Linked DNA regions of Homo sapiens: region 2 is linked to region 1. The links are contacts of gene promoters, found by promoter capture Hi-C in human tissues and cell types (Jung and others, 2019). All regions are on one chromosome and are shown on one strand. The core of a region is centred on a gene start or on the middle of the fragment in contact, and the rest is flanking DNA. Distances in the headings are between cores, read along the strand shown.

What was found. The method cuts DNA at HindIII sites, captures the fragments that hold promoters and counts their contacts. A contact is called where the count stands out against the background at its distance.
Region 2: a contact is called between a fragment that was not itself captured here and the fragment with the promoter of GRIA3 in region 1, in 1 of the 25 tissues and cell types used here (hippocampus).

The regions. Positions count from the first base shown.
Region 1 is chrX:123,182,322-123,185,906 of GRCh38, forward strand. It overlaps GRIA3 (glutamate ionotropic receptor AMPA type subunit 3), which reads left to right and starts at 1,957. Exons shown (of 16, transcript NM_007325.5): 1 at 1,957-2,323; 2 at 3,511-3,585. The coding sequence starts at 2,215. The HindIII fragment of the contact is 15,663 bases long and covers 1-3,585 here.
Region 2 is chrX:123,224,747-123,228,331 of GRCh38, forward strand. All of the region lies in intron 2 of GRIA3 (glutamate ionotropic receptor AMPA type subunit 3), which reads left to right. Among named protein-coding and RNA genes, the nearest start is that of GRIA3, 42 kb to the left of the region's middle. The HindIII fragment of the contact is 3,674 bases long and covers 1-3,585 here.

The DNA.
Region 1 (3,585 bases), core at 707-3,206:
GGTTCAGATTAACAAAGTTGTTCAAGGTCACACACTGCCTGTATGTGATGGGACTTAGACTCGAACCTGGACGTGTATGCCTCCTAAGCCCATGTTCCCGAATAATGCTATGTCCCTGTCTACATTTGGCAGGGGATGACCAACCTTACCTCTGCTACCCGCTTTGCCCTAATGCTTCTTCCACTGAAAAGATGAGTCTCCTCAGACTCTCATGTTTCTCCTTCACTCCTGTCCATGAAATATCAAAATGGAGACAAAAGATTTCTATGAGTGGTGGGTGGGAGGAAATTATGCATTATCAGAATGAATAGAAATTTGGGAAGAGCCTAGGACAATTTTTCTGGTTTGAAGCCATTTTGTTCCATTGTTCCAGGCTCCAGACTACGTCTCGCCAAATCCAAAGTTCTGTAGCAACTGATATACTAGCTGGGCTCCAGGGTCCTTCTATCCCCTGTATATTCCCAATTTTATCCCCGATGTATATCAGTTCGCTTTACACTGGCAGGAGAGTTCATGTTCCACTTAGACCAGGAGGAGAGGATATGAAAAGGAAAATAGCAGGTGTGGGGAGGATAAAACCCATGCCTTCTACAGTAACTGTAAAGTAAAAGTGAAAAACGTGAGAGATAAAGAGGATTCTTTTTCCTCATTGCGGGAGAAAGGGGCTAGGGAGAGGAGTCTATAGCCCAGGAGGTTCATCCGCAGCATGCTATGGAGAAGGCCACCGTCACTGAAATCCGGTCTGTACTGTAGGACTTCATAGGTTCTTTGCTCGCCTTAGAGCAGAGGGGAAGAAGAGTCAGAAAGAATTGATAACCTCTGAGGTCATCAGTCAGGGGCCTAGGCTGCTAAGTCCAGAGGCAACACCAAGGGATCAATGCAGCTAGGTACAGTTTTCTCCAGCCTCAACTTTCAATCCCCACCCCCAGACCAGCTCATTCCCACACCTCCCTCCTCCTTGGTCAGTGAGCCTGAGCGTCCTTTTCATTAACCTTTTAGTTACTACCTCTACGCACATACTTTTTCCTATGCCCTCCAAAGAAGTCAGCCCCATACTGCCCATCACTGCTCAGCACCGCCCACCCCATGCCCCCGCAAGCCGGCCTCAGCACTAGTTTAAGGGGAGGGACACGCCTCCCAAAGCTGCGGGGATGGGGGTGGGGGTTGCTCACTCGCCCTCGGATCTCTGCTGTAAAAGCGGAGCGGCAGAGACCGGGCATGCGCAGCATCTTCGGGCGCATTGTGATGGGAACTGCTTCTCTGAGTCTCTACAAAGACTCCGGAGTAACCACTAATGGCCCTCCTAAGGCCCCCCTTCTTTAAGACAGACACACAAACACAGAGGCAATGCAGCTATTTTTTTTTAAAGGGTGGGAGGACGTTGCAGCTTGAAAGGTTGATCCACGTTAGGAGTGGTGTATTTCTATTGATCCCATCTCCGGTGTTGACAAACGCCAGCGCCTAGGCTTTGCAGTCCGGGGCTGCAGTTTGCAGTAGAGCTAAGCGGTGTGCGGCTTTAATTCCACGTCAGATCAACTTTGATCAATATCCCCCTACTGGCCCAATTGGAAGAGCCCAATTCACCGGCACTGAGCCTTTTCGCTCTTTCCTTTTTTTCCCCCCCTCTTTAGACCTACCATCTTTTGCGGGGGGGGGGGGGCGCGGAGAGAGTCTCAGATTGTCTTGATAATTTATTCTTTCGTTCTCTTTCTTTTGCTTCTCTATTTTTGTTTTTCAGTGTTTTGCTTGTTTTGTTCTGTTTTAGGATTTTATTCTCTCTCTCTCTCTCTCTCTCTCTCTCTCTCTCTCTCTCTATCATAGGGACAGAAATCGCTTTGGCAAACCCAGCTTGCAGCCAATGAACCCGCCTTCCAGATTGGTGTGAAGACAGAAGTGAGGTGGGGGGAAGGGAGGGGGTGTGAGAGATCCTGGGAGCGAGAGGGAGAGAGAGGGAGCAAGAAAGGAAGAGAGAGCGAGCGAGAGAGAGCGAGCGAATAAGAGAGAGAGTAAGAGGGAGAGAGAAGAAGAGGAAGAAGAGGAGGCGGCGGCAGCGGAGGAGGAGGAGGACTAGTGTGGGGTGGAAAGGAAGAGTGAGCGAGAGCAAGTTAAGGGGAGGGGGTGTAAGAGCCAGCGAATTCTTTTTCTTTTTCTATTATTATTTTGACGACTCCTGAGTTGCGCCCATGCTCTTGTCAGCTTCGTTTTAGGCGTAGCATGGCCAGGCAGAAGAAAATGGGGCAAAGCGTGCTCCGGGCGGTCTTCTTTTTAGTCCTGGGGCTTTTGGGTCATTCTCACGGAGGATTCCCCAACACCATCAGCATAGGTAAGCGCAAGCGAGCCAGCCGTCGGTCCAGGCTCTCCCTCACCCGAGACCACTGCCCCGGCAAGGCTTTCCCTGCGGTGGGTCCCTGTCCTGCGTGGCCTGGGAACTGGGACTGGGGCCGGGACCGGGCAGAGATGGTGCGGGGCGGGGGGCGGGGCGGGGGGAATCTGAGCCTCAACGAGGTGGCTGGTCTGAAGAGCCTCTGGGACAAGAGAGGGGTCTCCTGGGGCTAGTGGGGGTGAACTGCTAGGTTTTCCGAGCCGAGAGGAGCACCGGAGGCGAGCAGGAGGCTGGGATGCTGCAAGGGGGTGAAGAGTCGAGGCTTTTCGGCTCGCTGCTCTGGACTTTGCCATGGCGTGCGTGCAGCTCCTGGAAGTTGTCCCAGGGTGATGCCGACTGTCTGGCCGCGCCAGGGCGCATAACCCGGGCCCGGGGTGCTCAGTCCGTGGTCTCCGGCTGTCGGGAGACAGGCTGGTGCTGGGGGAGGTGGAGCCCACTTTGGATCTCCCAGACCCGGGCAGCAGCAGGCGTTGGTGGTGGATGGGGTAGGAGGCGGGGGTGAGACTAGGAGCTGAGCGGGCAAGCGGCGAAGTCACGCAGACCACGAATTCATGAATTGCCGCTGTGTCTGTCTGGAGCCCGGCTCCTGGGCGCCTGGAGGGAGTTATCTTGGCTTCTGTCGTATTTACAAGTCTAGAAGTTAGAATTTTTGCCATTACTGAACCAACCCCCTGTATTGTCACGGGGGAGGGTGGCTATGGGGAACGGGTTGGGGTAGCAGGGGGAACAATATTGTTTTTCTTCCCAACCTTTCCCTTCACACAATGAAAAGATGACCAGCTGTGCGGATGGGCGGGGGGCGGAGGGGGGGGGCGACTAAAAAAAAAGAAGGCTGCCGACTAAGAAAGAACCAAGTCTCACTCTTGGTTCCATCGTCCTAACCCAAAACGGCTCCCTCGTCTCTTCTCCCTTCTCTCTAGCCTCTTCTTTTCAGTCTAGAAAAGCCAGGTTTCTCTTGGCCAAAATCTGAGTTCACAAGTCTTGAAAGACACACAGGTTGAATATCAATCCTCAATCCCACACCCCAGTATCATTGAGAGGTATCCGGTATCTATATTGTTCCCCAATTCCTAACTGGCCCTAGTGTGGGGGAACACAAGCCAAATCTCCGTTCCCTTTGCTTATAGGTGGACTTTTCATGAGAAACACAGTGCAGGAGCACAGCGCTTTCCGCTTTGCCGTGCAGTTATACAACACCAACC
Region 2 (3,585 bases), core at 572-3,071, 42 kb after region 1:
TCTAAATTATTTAAAGCAGTTAAATATTTAAATTTTAAATCATTTAAATATTTAAATGTAAATCCTTAAACATGCCGGGCTAGCTCATGGCTCAATGCTTTCTTTCACACTATTTCTTGTAGCTGGAAGAATTCCCCCTTCCCATATCCAAATCATAGTTTTAAAATGTCACCTTGACCAACTAAAATGTCACCTCCTGTGTAAAATCTCCAGGCAGAATTAATCGTGGTTTCCTCTGAACTTTCTGCAAACCATAACTGTAGCACTTATGCACATTGTTTTACAATTAGGTGCGTGAAACCTCTTTAAAGATGGGGATTCTGCCACAGACTTCATGTTTAATATGTCTGGTTCTGGAATCAGAGACTTGGATTTTAGTACCAGCTCTGGCACTTACTAGGTATGTAATTTGGGGCAAGTCAACCGGTGTCTCTAAGCTTCAATGTTCTCATCTGCAAAACAATAACAATAGTGTTGCAAGTAAATGAGATAATGCATACAAAACACCTATAGTGCCTGACACATAATAAACACTCAACAAATGTTAGCTATGACTATTTTTCTGTGCCTGGCATATGGTCTTGCACGGAGCGAGTACCCAATAAATGATTACTGAATAAATTAATCATAGCATGGAAGACCTAAGAACATTTGCTAAATGGACAGTTTCTTCCTTTATTGAATCTTGGAATTCCTGTCAGAGGCATAAAAAATGGGTTACATAATGAATTTATTTCTCTGTAGTCAAGTAATAATTACAGTAGCAATTGGGATAACCAAAAGCTTTGTCTGTGCAGTTTATCTTTTGAACCTGAACCTATTACATCTTTAGTCCCAGGAACTACATGTTTTGAAGTGTACATTTCAAACTTCCTTTCCAAGATAAATCCAAAGACTTTTTTTCTACTCTAACATTTCACAAATAGGATGAATCAATTAATGTGATAATTATTTAATACACCAAGCAATAACTTTTAAGGTGTAATGGTAATTGAGCCCAGCATGCTTGAAAATACCATTCTCTGAGTCAGGTTCAGCAACATGTCTTGAAGTTGGGACCTTAGAGGCTTAATTCATTCTAAACCCCCTCTACCAATATAAAATTTAAATTAATGGTATTTCTGACTCTTGGTCCCTTTCACCTATAATTCTTCTTAATCTCTTGACCTCTATTTCATTCATGAAATCCCAAAAGATTATCTTTCACAGTGAACCCACAGTAATCTGTTTAATATCCCTTGATAAGAAATATCCCTTTAAAAAGCCAAATTCTGCCATGCTTTAAATAGAAACCCTATTTGCTGAGACAAGACAAACACTTATAGTCTTTTTCCTTTACTTGGTCCTAGAAAAGGCCCAAAATAAAACATACATGTCAAGTCCATTGTAAATGGATGTGGAAACCAGACATTTGAAGTGTTATCATCACCATCATTAGCATCATCATCACCATCATCTTCATCATCATTATCATAAAAAACAACATAACAACAGTTCAAGAAGTTTGGAAAATGAGGATATGGGTTTATCTAAAACTCCACTACCCACATAAAACTAGAATTATTTTTGTATATTTTTCCATTCTTTCTCATTGGCCTACATTTTTTCAAAGCTTGCTCCCAAGTATTCCCAGGTATACCAAGGAGATTTTAAGAACTTCAGAAAAACTGTGATTCTAAATGTATAACTGCCTAGAAAGTTTCCCATTGCTTCAGTTTTTCAGAGAAAGACACTCTGAGAGTACAGATGGTATAATGGCCCAAGTCTACAAAAAGTTTCATTTCTGTGCATACATACCACCCATTCTACGATAAGGTGTTGGGGATCAGCTGATGAGCTGACCAAACATGCCCATAATAATCCTGGACAAAGGCTGAGACCAGCACTTTTTACTTCAATTTGGACTCTGAAAGAAAAATTATATGAGGAAAGGTGAGGATTCCCTAATGATAATAACCTCAATCTTCATGATATTAAAACATAATAATTAAAAGGCAGAGAGAGACTTTAAAAACCCCATTGAGATTTCAAAAGAACAATACAATATGCAAATAGTCATTCTTGTATGCAGTTCATCATTGATTATCCATGAGAACAGAAAGGAGCTGAAGCTTTGGGGCATGTTCAGTAATATTTATCTGCAACTTCTAGCTTCCTGTCCCTCTCCCTGACCCCCTCCAATACACACACACACTTAGAATAATATTTATTTTAGATTATGTTTTGTATGTTCACGAAAATCTAATATGACCACTAATAAAAGCTGAGGTTTATGGCCTTGTTACCTTTGTCTCTCAAATTTATATTCCTTCATTATCTTCTGCACCTCTTGAAAACCACACAGATTCCTCCTCCTCTTTTTCCCTTTTCCCACTTATCTAGGCTAAATGATTTAATACTGCATTTTATAATATTTTATGTTGTTCTTGAATCATTTAATGTCACTTAAGGTTACTTCCTTAACTGGATCATGAGTTCTTTGACAATTTATGCATGGTACCTTTTTTTCTATCTGCTGTGATCCTTGTGACATAGACTATGAGTTACTTGAGGCCTTATTTTCCTTTGTCTCCTCAGCACTTATTACAGTACCTAACAGTGGAGCTATTCAATAAAGCAAATATTTAATAAAGGAATAAATGAATGGACGAATGAATGGATGGATGGATAAAAAGACAGCATCCAAGAAATGTTACCTAGCTGATGAGTGGACTTCAGAGCACTTGCCAGCAAGAAGGGTGGCCAGCAAGTGTTGATAAGTCAGTCAGCAATTACTTATTGAGCACCTACTATCTGCCAGACACAGATATTCTGTGGGGGAAGGGGAGGGGAACAAGAGAAAGCAGGCCTAGAATTGAAAATCAGATGTGTACAAGTCACAAAGTGGAACACAATTGCCCAATTGTCTGACTTTTTGTCATTATTTTCTGAGTGTAGCATGGGTGAATATTTTTCTCTACCATGAGGCAAACTAATTTGGGAGGCAGAGTATTACCATCTTTTCTACTATTCTCTTGTCTTAGGTTGAGTTGAATAGTTCAAGTATTGAGATGTGTAGTTTCTTCTGTAGTATCTTCCCTGCTCTGTCACCATCCTTTTCAGACAATAGAACATGAGTTGGAGAGACATTCTGAGTTCTAGTGAAGTCACTGAAGCCAACTTGCCAATGAGTAAGAGGTAAAGACCTAGGGTGTGAGGAAGGACTTGCATTCAAGGCTGTTTGAACTTTCCGTGTTAAGCCTTCGCTTCCATTTTGGAGACTGGAGCCTTTCAGCTCCTCCTGTCCTTCTGGCAACTCTTAGGAAAAAATGCTTAAATAACAATAACAGAGCAGCAGAAAGGAAGAATGGAAATTATCGTAATAGCATGGACTTGTTGCGCCAACATTGTTAGCCTCTCAGCAGCCAACTCCATGGAGCTGCCCTATGCTTGTCAATGAAAGGATAAAAAGGATATGAAGGAGACATTTTATGGGGCCATTTCAGCTGTTCACTGTAAATACACCCTCCATCAAATATAGTGAGCTGGGACCTAGAGATCACAGACAGCTGGGTTGCTTGAAAAGAGAAAAGACATTATAGTAAA